Linked DNA regions of Homo sapiens: all the other regions are linked to region 1. Evidence: promoter capture Hi-C in 16 types of primary human blood cells and fetal thymus (Javierre and others, 2016). All regions are on one chromosome and are shown on one strand. Each heading gives the region's core, a stretch centred on a gene start or on the middle of the fragment in contact. The rest is flanking DNA. Distances are from core to core; before and after follow the strand shown. Region 1 holds the start of C16orf90 (chromosome 16 open reading frame 90). Region 2 has its middle 21 kb from the start of ZNF200. Region 3 overlaps MMP25 (matrix metallopeptidase 25).

What was found. Contacts are between HindIII fragments. The CHiCAGO score rates a contact against its expected background, and 5 or more counts as called.
Region 2: a fragment that was not itself captured here is called in contact with the fragment with the promoter of C16orf90 in region 1 in 1 of 17 cell types (M2 macrophages); the score reaches 5.2 in M2 macrophages.
Region 3: a fragment that was not itself captured here is called in contact with the fragment with the promoter of C16orf90 in region 1 in 1 of 17 cell types (naive CD8 T cells); the score reaches 5.3 in naive CD8 T cells.

The regions. Positions count from the first base shown.
Region 1 is chr16:3,493,868-3,497,201 of GRCh38, reverse strand. It overlaps C16orf90 (chromosome 16 open reading frame 90), which reads left to right and starts at 1,713. Exons shown (of 3, transcript NM_001080524.2): 1 at 1,713-1,826; 2 at 2,325-2,678; 3 at 3,215-3,334. The coding sequence starts at 1,781. It also overlaps a transcript of CLUAP1 not described here and the pseudogene RPL18P12. The HindIII fragment of the contact is 6,628 bases long and covers 1,128-3,334 here.
Region 2 is chr16:3,212,953-3,216,225 of GRCh38, reverse strand. It overlaps the pseudogene OR1F2P. Among named protein-coding and RNA genes, the nearest start is that of ZNF200, 21 kb to the left of the region's middle. The HindIII fragment of the contact is 7,571 bases long and covers 1-3,273 here.
Region 3 is chr16:3,050,750-3,054,457 of GRCh38, reverse strand. All of the region lies in intron 4 of MMP25 (matrix metallopeptidase 25), which reads right to left. It overlaps LOC124900372 (sialidase-like), which reads left to right. Exons shown (of 3, transcript XM_047435000.1): 3 at 1-1,104. The coding sequence ends at 651. MMP25-AS1 (MMP25 antisense RNA 1) reads left to right here. Exons shown (of 5, transcript NR_123723.1): 5 at 836-2,333. Among named protein-coding and RNA genes, the nearest start is that of MMP25, 6.0 kb to the right of the region's middle. The HindIII fragment of the contact is 5,966 bases long and covers 1-3,708 here.

The sequences.
Region 1 (3,334 bases), core at 464-2,963:
TATTTAATATTTCCTACATACAAGATCAGGTTGCTGGGCGCGGTGGGTCATGCCTGTAATCCCAGCACTTTGGGAGGCCGAGGTGGGCGGATCACCTGACGTCAGGAGTTTGAGACCAGCCTGGCCAACATGGCGAAAGCCTGTCTCTACTAAAAATACAAAGATCCGTTGGGCGTGGTGGTGGGTGCCTGTAATCCCACCTGCTGGGGAGGCCGAGGCAGGAGAAGCTCTTGAACTCGGGAGGCGGAGGTTGCAGTGAACCGAGATCGCGCCACTGCACTCCAGCCTGGGCGCCAAAGTGAGACTCCATCTTAAAAAAAAAAAAAAAGAAAAGAAAAAAAGAAAAATCAGGTCGTCTGTGACAAGAGAAAATTGAATGTTTTAACTTTTTGTTTTTTTGTCAGCATCCAAAATCTTTTTAATAAGAGGGTTCGTTTTTGTAGCCTCGGCTGGCCCGTAGGCCTCTGGCGCGCTCGAACTTCTGGTCCCTGGAGCGGAAATAGCGTTTGGTGTGGCTGTGTGGGGTTCCCAGGGCCTTGCCGAAATGCCGGTACACCTGTCGGCCCTTGCGAAGACCGGAGAGTAGGACGGGGCCGCCGTCCTTGAGGGAGTCCAGGGCCAGCTGATCGAAAGTCAGGATCTTGGCCCCCACCCTGAGGATGCCGCTGTGGGCCGGCTGGTCACGGGCAGCGCACACACCTTAAGTTTGGGCACCTCCTGAACCCTCGCGTCATCCGTTAAGCGTCCCCACAACCACGGCCGTTTTGTTTTCCCAGCCAGGAAGCTTCATCTTCCGGATCATCCGGGAAACGGACAGAGGTGGCCGGTTGGTGCGACTCATAAACAACCTCTTCAGCACAACCTGGTTGAATGTGGAGTTAGTTCGTCTGGACGGTAACCTGTACAGCTTGACCAACAAACAGCCTCAGTTAGATATCCTGGCTCTTGGGCTCTTTGCGCCGAACCTTTAGGTCCTTCTTGTGGCGGACGTCAGCTCCCATGATGGCGCTTCCTGCTTGGCCAGGTCCGGAAAGATGAATGTTTAACTTTTTTTTTTTTTTGAGACGGAGTCTCGCTCTGCAGCCCAGGCTGGAGTGCAGTGGCGCGATCTGGGCTCACTGCAAGCTTCGCCTCCCGGGTTCACGCCATTCTCCTGCCTCAGCCTCCTGAGTAACTGGGACTACAGGCTCCCGCCACGACGCCCGGCTAATTTTTTTGTATTTTTAGTAGAGACGGGGTTTCACCGTGTTAGCCAGGATGGTCTCGATCTCCTGACCTCATGATCCGCCCACCCCGGCCTCCCACAGACCTCAACTGATCAGCCTGCCTCGGCCTCCCACAGTGCTGGGATTACAGGCATGAGCCACCGCCCCCAGCCCCTTTTCAGCATTTTCAAAGTACCGACCTAGGTCTTCCTAGGTCTGTACTCCTGAACCCTCATTTCCCACCCCAGATGAGGAAGCTGGCCCCAAGAGATCACCTGAGAGAAGGACTCTCCAGTTTGCCAGAGCTGTCTGTTTTATGTGGCCTGACCCCAGCCAGAGGGACCAGGGACTTCCCCCAGGGTTCTGGCCCCTTCCCATGCCTTTCTTTCACCCTGCCCTTGCCTTGGGCACTGTCCTCTCCCAAACTAGGGGTCCAGGAAGGCTGGGAGTCTTCCCCGTGATGTCATAAGAACCAGTTGCCAGGGGAGACCTGCCAATGTACCCCCTAGGCAGGGGAGAGCAGGGCCCTGCTGCACCCAAGTCCTGGTTGCTCCTCCCCACCACACTGGCCCTCCATGGAAGCCTTGGTCTGTGCATTTTCTGAGCTGCACATAAGAGAAGGTGCCGGGCTGTGGGGAGGAGTGGCAGGAAGAGAGATAGGCTTCTGTCCCCACCTGGGCCCAAAGCCGAGGGGTGGCCTCAGGGACATGTATGCTTGGGAGAGGGGAATGGCCACTGGGCCAGGCCATGAGCCCCTGGGCTGGCCACTTTCTCTCAAACCCACTGTGCAATTTCTCTGTGGGGACCAGAATACTCTTCCTAGGGTAGCGGGCAGAACAGGGTAGTAGAAAGGACTTGAGGTCCTGAAAGCACTCTTAGTACCAAGGCCCGAGGCTTCCCAGGCCTCCCTGTTGGTTGGGAGTGGGAAGAGGAGTCGTGTCTTGGGCATGGGCAGGGGAGGCAGTGGACTGAGACTATTTGACACACAGGTAAACTGAGGCCAGGTTGGCTGGGGGTGTAGCCCATCATGTGAGCTGGTCTCAGAGGTATGTGACTGCACCCTCCCCTCATGGCTGCTGTGGGGGGCTGGCCACCACCCTCCCGCTGTCTCCTCTGCAGATGCAGTGAGCCAGGCCCAAGGACGCCCCGGCCACCCTGACGCACCCCCCAACATCTACGAGGGGGGCCTGGGGTCCCCGCAGCCGCAGTGCCCCAGTGCCCAGGGAAGCAAGCCCAAGAACTTCCGGCTGCGCCACCTCCGGGGCCTGGGCCTCTACCTGGAGAGCCACCCGCCACCCACTGGCCAGTGTGAGAGCCACTGGCTGGGCCGGCTTATGGCTGGGGGCTGCCTGCCACAGCCTGAGGGCACAGCCTGGGCCCTGGACCTGCCACAGGGGACTCTGGGCCCACGTAACAGCCTCTGTTCAGCCCTTCTGGAAGCCCGATTGCCCAGGGACAGCCTGGGAAGCAGTGGTGAGCTCTGTCAAGGCAGGACTGGGCACGGGGGAAGACCCTAGGGGATGGTTGGGCTGGGGCCTCAGGCGGGCCCTTCTCCACTCCCAAGCCTCCACAGTGGCACCATGCCCCAGAAGGCCAAGATCTTGATGAATCTGTCCCCATCTCTGCATCACGCACAGCTAAGCGGGGTCTGGAGAATCCACCAGGGACAAAGCGGTGCGAGAAAAAGGGAGGATCTGGGAGGGAGGGCTGGGTGACTGCCCCAGCTCCACACTCGGTGAGGGGCCTTGGAATCTGTCTCCCTTGCTGGGCCTCAGTTTTCTCACTTGTAAAATGAGGGTTCAGGTTAGATGAGGGTCCTTCCAGCTTGAACCATTCTGTTCCCTCAACCTCCTCCCTCCCCTGGGGATTCTGTTAAGGAGGAAGCATTGCCCTCCTCCCTTCTGTTTTCAAGAATATCGGATTCTGGAAACCCCAGGGTGGGCTGCCAGCCTCCCCCCCAGCCTCCCCTTGGGTCCCTCAAGTGACTCCTTTCTCTCCTCTTTCCTCAGCTTCCAGTTCCAGCATGGACCCAGACAAGGGTGCCCTCCCCCAGCCTAGTCCTTCTAGGCTCAGGCCCAAGAGGTCCTGGGGGACCTGGGAAGAGGCCATGTGTCCCTTGTGCAAGAGAA
Region 2 (3,273 bases), core at 206-2,705, 280 kb after region 1:
GACTAGGGCAGCCTCAGTAAGAATCATCACTTCACTGAGGTGTGTGTCTGAACAGGAGAGTTTCAGGAGGGGAGTCACATCGCAGAAGATGTGGGGGATGGTGTTGTCTGCACAGAATGAGAGTCGAGCCATCAGCAGGGTGTGCAGCAGAGCATTCGAGTTGGCAACCACCCATGATCCAGTGACCAGCAGGGCACAGAGCTGATGGGTCATCTTTGCTGTGTAATGTAAGGGGCGGCACACGGCGACAAAGCGGTCATAGGCCATCACAGCCAGGAGGAAATTGTCCATGTCAGCAAGCTCACTGATAAAATACATCTGCATGAGACAGCCAGAGAAGGAGATGGTTTGAGTCCTGAGTATGTGATTGGCCAGCATCTTGGGGACGGTGGTGGAGAAGCAGTTGTCCACAAAGGACATGTTGCTGAGGAAGAAGTACATGGGGGTGTGCAGGCGGGAGTCTATGCTTATGGCCAGGATGATGAGCAGGTTCCCCAGGACAGTGGCCAGGTACATGCTGAGGAAGAACACAAAGAGGAGATGCTGCTGCTGGGGCTGCCTGGAGAGTCCCAAGAGGAGGAACTCGGAGACACTCACTGGTTTGTCCCTCTCATATGTCTGGACCCAGCTGCATAGAAGACAGTGAATTCAGAAACATACACATGGGTGGTTAAGATGTGATGAGGCTCCAGGAAGAACCACGTTTGCAAATCAATTCACAAACTTGCAAAAACAGGATGTGGTCTCCTCACCCATACGTCCAATTTCCAACACTCAGTTACGATGCTTTTCCTAGACGACTCACTGATTCTTATTTTGCATATTTAACGTTGAAAACACAGACAGGCTGGGCATGGTGGCTCATGCCTGTAATCCTAGAACTTTGGAAGGCCAAAGAGGGAAGATGGCTTGAGGCCAGGAGTTCAAGACCAGCCTGGACAACATACCAAGACCCCATCTCTATTAAAAAAGAAAAGAAAACAAAACACACAGACACGTACACATAGCCTGACTCTGAGAATGTGTGTGTCTCTGGTACATTCAGTTCCCCACCCAACTAGTTAGCAGCTCATAAAGAGACTGGAGGAATGACTGATGATTACTGGGTTAATCTCAAGTGACAACTGATGGATTCAGGACTCCTGTACTTCACTTCTCTGTACATTACTCATTACTTCCTGTATCTGGATGATGTAGCAAAGAAGATTCCTAAAAGAACTTCACATCTGAGCCAACACATACTTAATTGTTCACCTCTGCGACCTTTCCTGGAGAAGGTTGGTGCTGTCACTCTCAGTTGTTCCTCATTTCTACATAACTGGTCAATGCTTCTACTTACTGTGGGAGTTGGAATGTCTTGGAAACACAGGCGGGTCCTGAGTGTGTGAGGAGTAGGGGCTCATGGTCTTAGTCCTCTGTGTAAGTAAATGTTTGGGGCAATCACAGAGCAGGCATTTGTAGGAACCTCCTTTGGCCACTGGGACCAGATTCCCTGAGAGCCTCATTAGGGACAAGAAGAACATAATTGTCCCACCTAATTTTGGCCCCTTTGGACCAAACAACGACGACATTCAATATTATCTAACGTTTAGATAAAACTCTTGGACCAAAACTTGTAGATATTAGAAATGAAGCCATCCTGATACAGATAAATCGCAGACAAGATTCCTTGGAACCACAAACCTCCTCACCTTGTGATCTGCTCCTGTGCCCACAGGTGTGGAAATTCTGTCATGAAATCCTTTGCAGTATCACTTCCTTTGTTGAGATATGGGGCTCTTCCGTGTTTTCTGTGTAGCCCTTGCTTTCCTCTGCCTGGTCATCTTAAGACATTAGTGATGCTTCGTGTTTTCCATTTTACAGGAGGGAATGTTACGAGCACATTACTGAGATGGGCTTAATTCGTGAAAATGTTTGGGGTCAGGCACAGTGGCTCACGCCTGTAACCCAAAAGTTTGGGAAGCCAAGGTGGGCAGATCACCTAAGGTCAGGGGTTCGAGACCAGCCTGGCCATCATGGTGAAACCCAGTCTCTACTAAAAATACAAAAATTAGCCAGGCATGGTGGCATGTGCCTGTAGTCCTAGCTACTTGGGAGGGTGAGGCACAATAATTACTTGAACCCAGGAGGTGGATGTTGCAGTGAACCGAGATCGTGCCACTGCACTCCAGCCTGGGCAATAGAGCAAGACTCTGTCTCAAAAAAAAAAAAAAAAGGAAAAAGAAAATGTTTGAGATGAAGGGTAGTCTGATTGTAAGGGAGGTTTTCTCCAGGAGAATCCAGGATGCCGTGATTTATGAACTCTAGACCCCTAGGATGGACATCTTTGGGGATGTCCCTGCAACTCACATGGTTTGCCCTTTTCTTGGGATAGAGCTTCCTAATCTGCATAGGCACAATGTGGTGGAGCCCCAGGAGTCGTGTTTCTACCACCTCCCCTTCACCATAGCTGGTTGAACCAGAGTATTTGGAACCAGGATTGAGCAAAGCTATCACTACATGCTTGGCTACAATGTATAAATCCAATCACCTTCTCTCTGTCCCATTCTCTTTTTTTTTTTTTTTTTTTTTTTGAGATGGAGTTTCACTCTGTCATCAGGCTGGAGTTCAGTGGTTTGATCTCAACTCACTGCAACCTCCACCTCCCGGGTTCAAGAGATTCTCCTGCCTCAGCCTCCCGAGTAGCTGGGACTACAGGCACGTACCACCATGCCCAGCTAATTTTTGTATTTTTAGTAGAGACAGGGTTTCACATTGTTGGCCATAATGGTCTCGATCTCTTGACCTCAGCCTCCCAAAGTGGTGGGATTACAGGCGTGAACCACCCCGCCTGGCGCCTCTTTCTTTCTTTCTTTTTTTTTTTTTTTTGAGACGGAGTCTCGCTCTGTCGCCAGGCTGGAGTGCAGTGGCGCAATCTCGGCTCACTGCAACCTCCACCTCCCAGGTTCGAGTGATTTTCCTGCCTCAGCCTCCCGAGTAGCTGGGACTACAGGCACGCGCCACCACGCCCAGCTAATTTTTTGTATTTTTAGTAAAGACAGGGTTTCACCATTTTGCCCAGGATGGTCTTGATTTCTTGACCTCGTGACCCACCCACCTCGGCCTCTCAAAGTGCTGGGATTACAGGCGTGAGCCACCGCGCCCAGCCCTCTTTCTTCTCTTTCTTTTCTTTTCTTTTCTTTCTTTCTTTCTTTCTTTCTTTCTTTCTTTCTTTCTTTCTTTCTTTCTCTCTCTCTCTTTCTTTCTCTTTCTTTTCTTTCCTCTTTCTTTCTT
Region 3 (3,708 bases), core at 1,102-3,601, 440 kb after region 1:
TCATCCCTGCCTCTGTGCATGCATCTGTCCATCCATCCATCCCTGCCTCTGTGCATGCATCTGTCCATTCATCCCTGCCTCTGTGTATGCATCTGTCCATCCATCCATCCCCACCTCTGTGCATGCATCTGTCCATCCATCCCCGCCTCTGTGCATGCATCTGTCCGTCCATCCATCCCTGCCTCTGTGCATGCATCTGTCCGTCCATTCATCCCTGCCTCTGTGCATGCATCTGTCCATTCATCCATCCCTGACTCTGTGCATGCATCTGTCCATCCATCCATCCTTGCCTCTATGCATGCATTTGTCCGTCCATCCATCCCTGCCTCTGTGCATGCATCCATACCTGCCTCTGTGCATGCATCTGTCAGTCTATCAATCCCCGATCCCTTCTTTGTAATGGTGTTGAGCGCTCACAACTCCCTCATCCTAAGACGCTCGTTGGATCCATTCCCTCCCCTCACCCCATGCTGCTCTCTGCCCTCCCTTCCCGGTCAAGTTCTCCAGCCAGTGGTCTCAACTCAATCTTCACTTCCCCCGCTCCTCTCACACCTATCCCCACTGCATTCTAAATTCTTCCCCAACGCGCTGGGCCTACAGGCACTAAAAAGGTCACTTTGTCCCTGGATGACCAAACACAGGCCAATGTAACTTACTGGGCTTGTTTTGCCCCAGCCACAGCTGACCACTTCCTCCTTCACTCTTGTTGTTGATCACCTTTGGGCTTAGTCTTTCTCCATCTCTGTTGAGTCCTTCTCCCCTGCCACCTACTCCTTCATGCTGGGGTTCTCTGTAGCTCTGTACCTGACAGTCACGTTCCACCCTTTCCTCCCAGAAGCTCGCCAACCCCCGTGGACTGCTGGCTCTCAAGGCGGCCGCTAGCCCAGCTCCGACAGCAGCTGACAATGCACAGTATGCGGCCCAGGGCAGGCCCTGTGCTGAGAGGCATGGGTGAATGGCTCATTTCATCGGCAAGCCCACGCCACCAGCAGGCGCCGTTCTCCTCGCATTTCTCAGGCGAGGAACCTGAGACAATGAGGTTAAGGAAGTTGTTCATTACAAGTGGAAGAACCCTGACTTACTTGAATTCAGCTTTGAAGCCCACATTCTCTTTTTCTGTGTGTGTGACAGGGTCTCACTTTGTCACCCAGGCCGCAGTGCAGTGGTGTGAACACAGCTCATTGCAGTCTCAACCTCCCTGACTCAAGCAATCCTCCTGCCTTAGCCTCCTGAGTAGCTGGGACTACAAGCATGTGCCACCACGCCCAGCCGAAGCCCATATGTGAATGTTGAGGCACACAGCCTCCCCAGCCTCTGCCTTACCAAGCCCTCCACAGGGCCTAGGCACCCTCCCTGGCTGCCCCCTTCCCCCGTCACTCAGGCTCCCCAGCAGCCAATGTAGTTAATATGGGGCTGCAAAGAGCTGGGCCTGGCCTCAGGCGGGACCGCCTCCCCGGCATTGCCATCCCTGCTGCAGAGCTCCCATGCGATCAGCCTCCTCTCCAGCTGAGACCACATCCTCACTCAGCTTCTAGGCTGTTCCTGCTCCCCATTCCCCTCAGCACATGGCCCCTGAGAAACTGCTTGCACAAGAATTTCCCTCTGGAGCCCCACCTCTGGGGAACCTGACCTCAGACAGAGGAGACCAAGCTCTAGGGCAGGATCCTCCACCTCCCTTGCCCCACCGGTGTGGCCAGCCCAGAGCGCTGCAGACTCCCGCCCAGACCTGCACTTGTGCCTGCCTTCTGCCAGCCTGCTCCTCCTCCTCCCACTCTCACACCTGCATTAACAGCACCAGGACGCCATCCTCCAAGGGCCCCAGCCTCATCTCCCCTGTCACCAGGATCCAGCCAGATCTCAATCCTTGCCCATCCTAACTGAACCTCCCTCAGATCCGTCCACTGCCCCCTTCCCCAGGACCACACTCCACCATCTCTTGCCTGGACCCTGCGAGAACTTCCTGCCTCCCTGCCTCTATCCTACCCCCTGCCCCCCGCTGAAGCTGATGATAGTTCCGGAATGCAAAACCCCTTAATGATTCCCCCATTGATCAAAGTCTTCCACATGCTTTCAAGGTCCTTGGTGATCCAGGACCTGCCGCCTTCTGCAGTCTCCCTACTGATGCCATAGTTTTGGCTTCTGGCCTCATATGTCCCGGGTCATTTCTCTGGTCACTGGCTCCTCTTACCCCTGACTCAGCTGGCTCACTGCTTTCCCATTGGATCTCAACCCTGTGTACCTGGGGAGAGCGGAACTCTGTATGTCTTGTCTTGTGCTAGTAGTCACTCAGTGTGTATGTGTGGATATTCATATATATATATATATATATTTGAGATGGAGTTTTGCTCTTGTTGCCCAGGCTGGAGTGCAGTGGCACGATCTCGGCTCACTGCAACCTCTGCCTCCAGGATTCAACTGATTCTCCTGCCTCAGCCTCTCCAGTAGCTGGGATTACAGGCTTGCACCACCACACCCGGCTAATTTTTTGTATTTTTAGTAGAGACGGGGTTTCAACATGTTGGTCAGGCTGGTCTCAAACTCCTGACCTCAGGTGATCCACCCACCTGTGCTTCCCGAAGTGCTAGGATTACAGATGAAAGCAATCACGCCCGGCCTATATTCATATATATATTGAGGGAACGAAGTCACCTCTTCTAGGAAGCCTCCCCTTGCCCAAGAGCTTTGGGCCAACATCTCTGAGCCCCTGCAGGCTTGAGGACTTCCTCTGCTGGGATTCTGTGGAGCTGTGTCACCGTGGGTGTTGTCATTGCCAGTCACTCTTCTGACTCAGCTGCCAGGTAAAGATTTGTTTTCGTCTCCGCAAGCCCCCAGCTCTGGCTTGGAGCTAGGCACCTGCTAGGCCTCTGTGATGGTTCATTGTGTGTGTCAGTTTGGCCCGGCTGTCGTGCCCAGCTGGTTGGTGAAACACCAGTCTAGATGCCATGGTGAAGGTCTTTGTAGATGCAATTAACATCTACAATCAGTTGACCTTAAGTCAAGTAGATCATGCTCCATAGTGTGGCTGGGGGTGGGGTGGGGGCAGAGCCAATCAGTTCAAGGCCTTGAGAGCTAAAGCTAAGGTTTCCTGGAGAGGAAGGAATTCTGCCTCCAGACTGTCACTGAAATCCTGAGTTGCCAGCCTGCCGTACAAATTTTGGACTTGCTATCCCCTACAATCCCGTGAGCCAATTCCTTAAAATAAATCTCTTTACACACACGCACACACACACCCCCCCCACACACATACACACACACACACATCCCACACACACGTGCACACACACACACATCCTGTTGGTTTTGTTTCTCTGGAGACCTCCCAGCTGATAAAGCCTCCATCAGTAAATATAATTTAAACCTAATTATTGGCCAGGAGTGGTGGCTCATGCTTATAATCCCAATGCTTTGAGAGACCAAGATGGGAGGATCACTTGAGCCCAGGAGTTCAAGACCAGCCCTGGTGACATAGTGAAGCCCCATCTCTACAAAAAGTTTTAAAACTAGCCAGGTGTGGTGGTGCACATCTGTGGTCCTGGCTACGTGGTGGCTGAGGAGGGAGGATCACTTGAGCCCAGGAGGTGAAGGCTGCAGTGAGCCGTGATCGTGCAACTGCACTCCAGCCTGAGCAAGATAATGAGACCCTGTTTCTACAAAAAGTAAAAAAAACAAACAAAAAAAATAGCCAGGTATGGTGGTGTGCACCAGTGA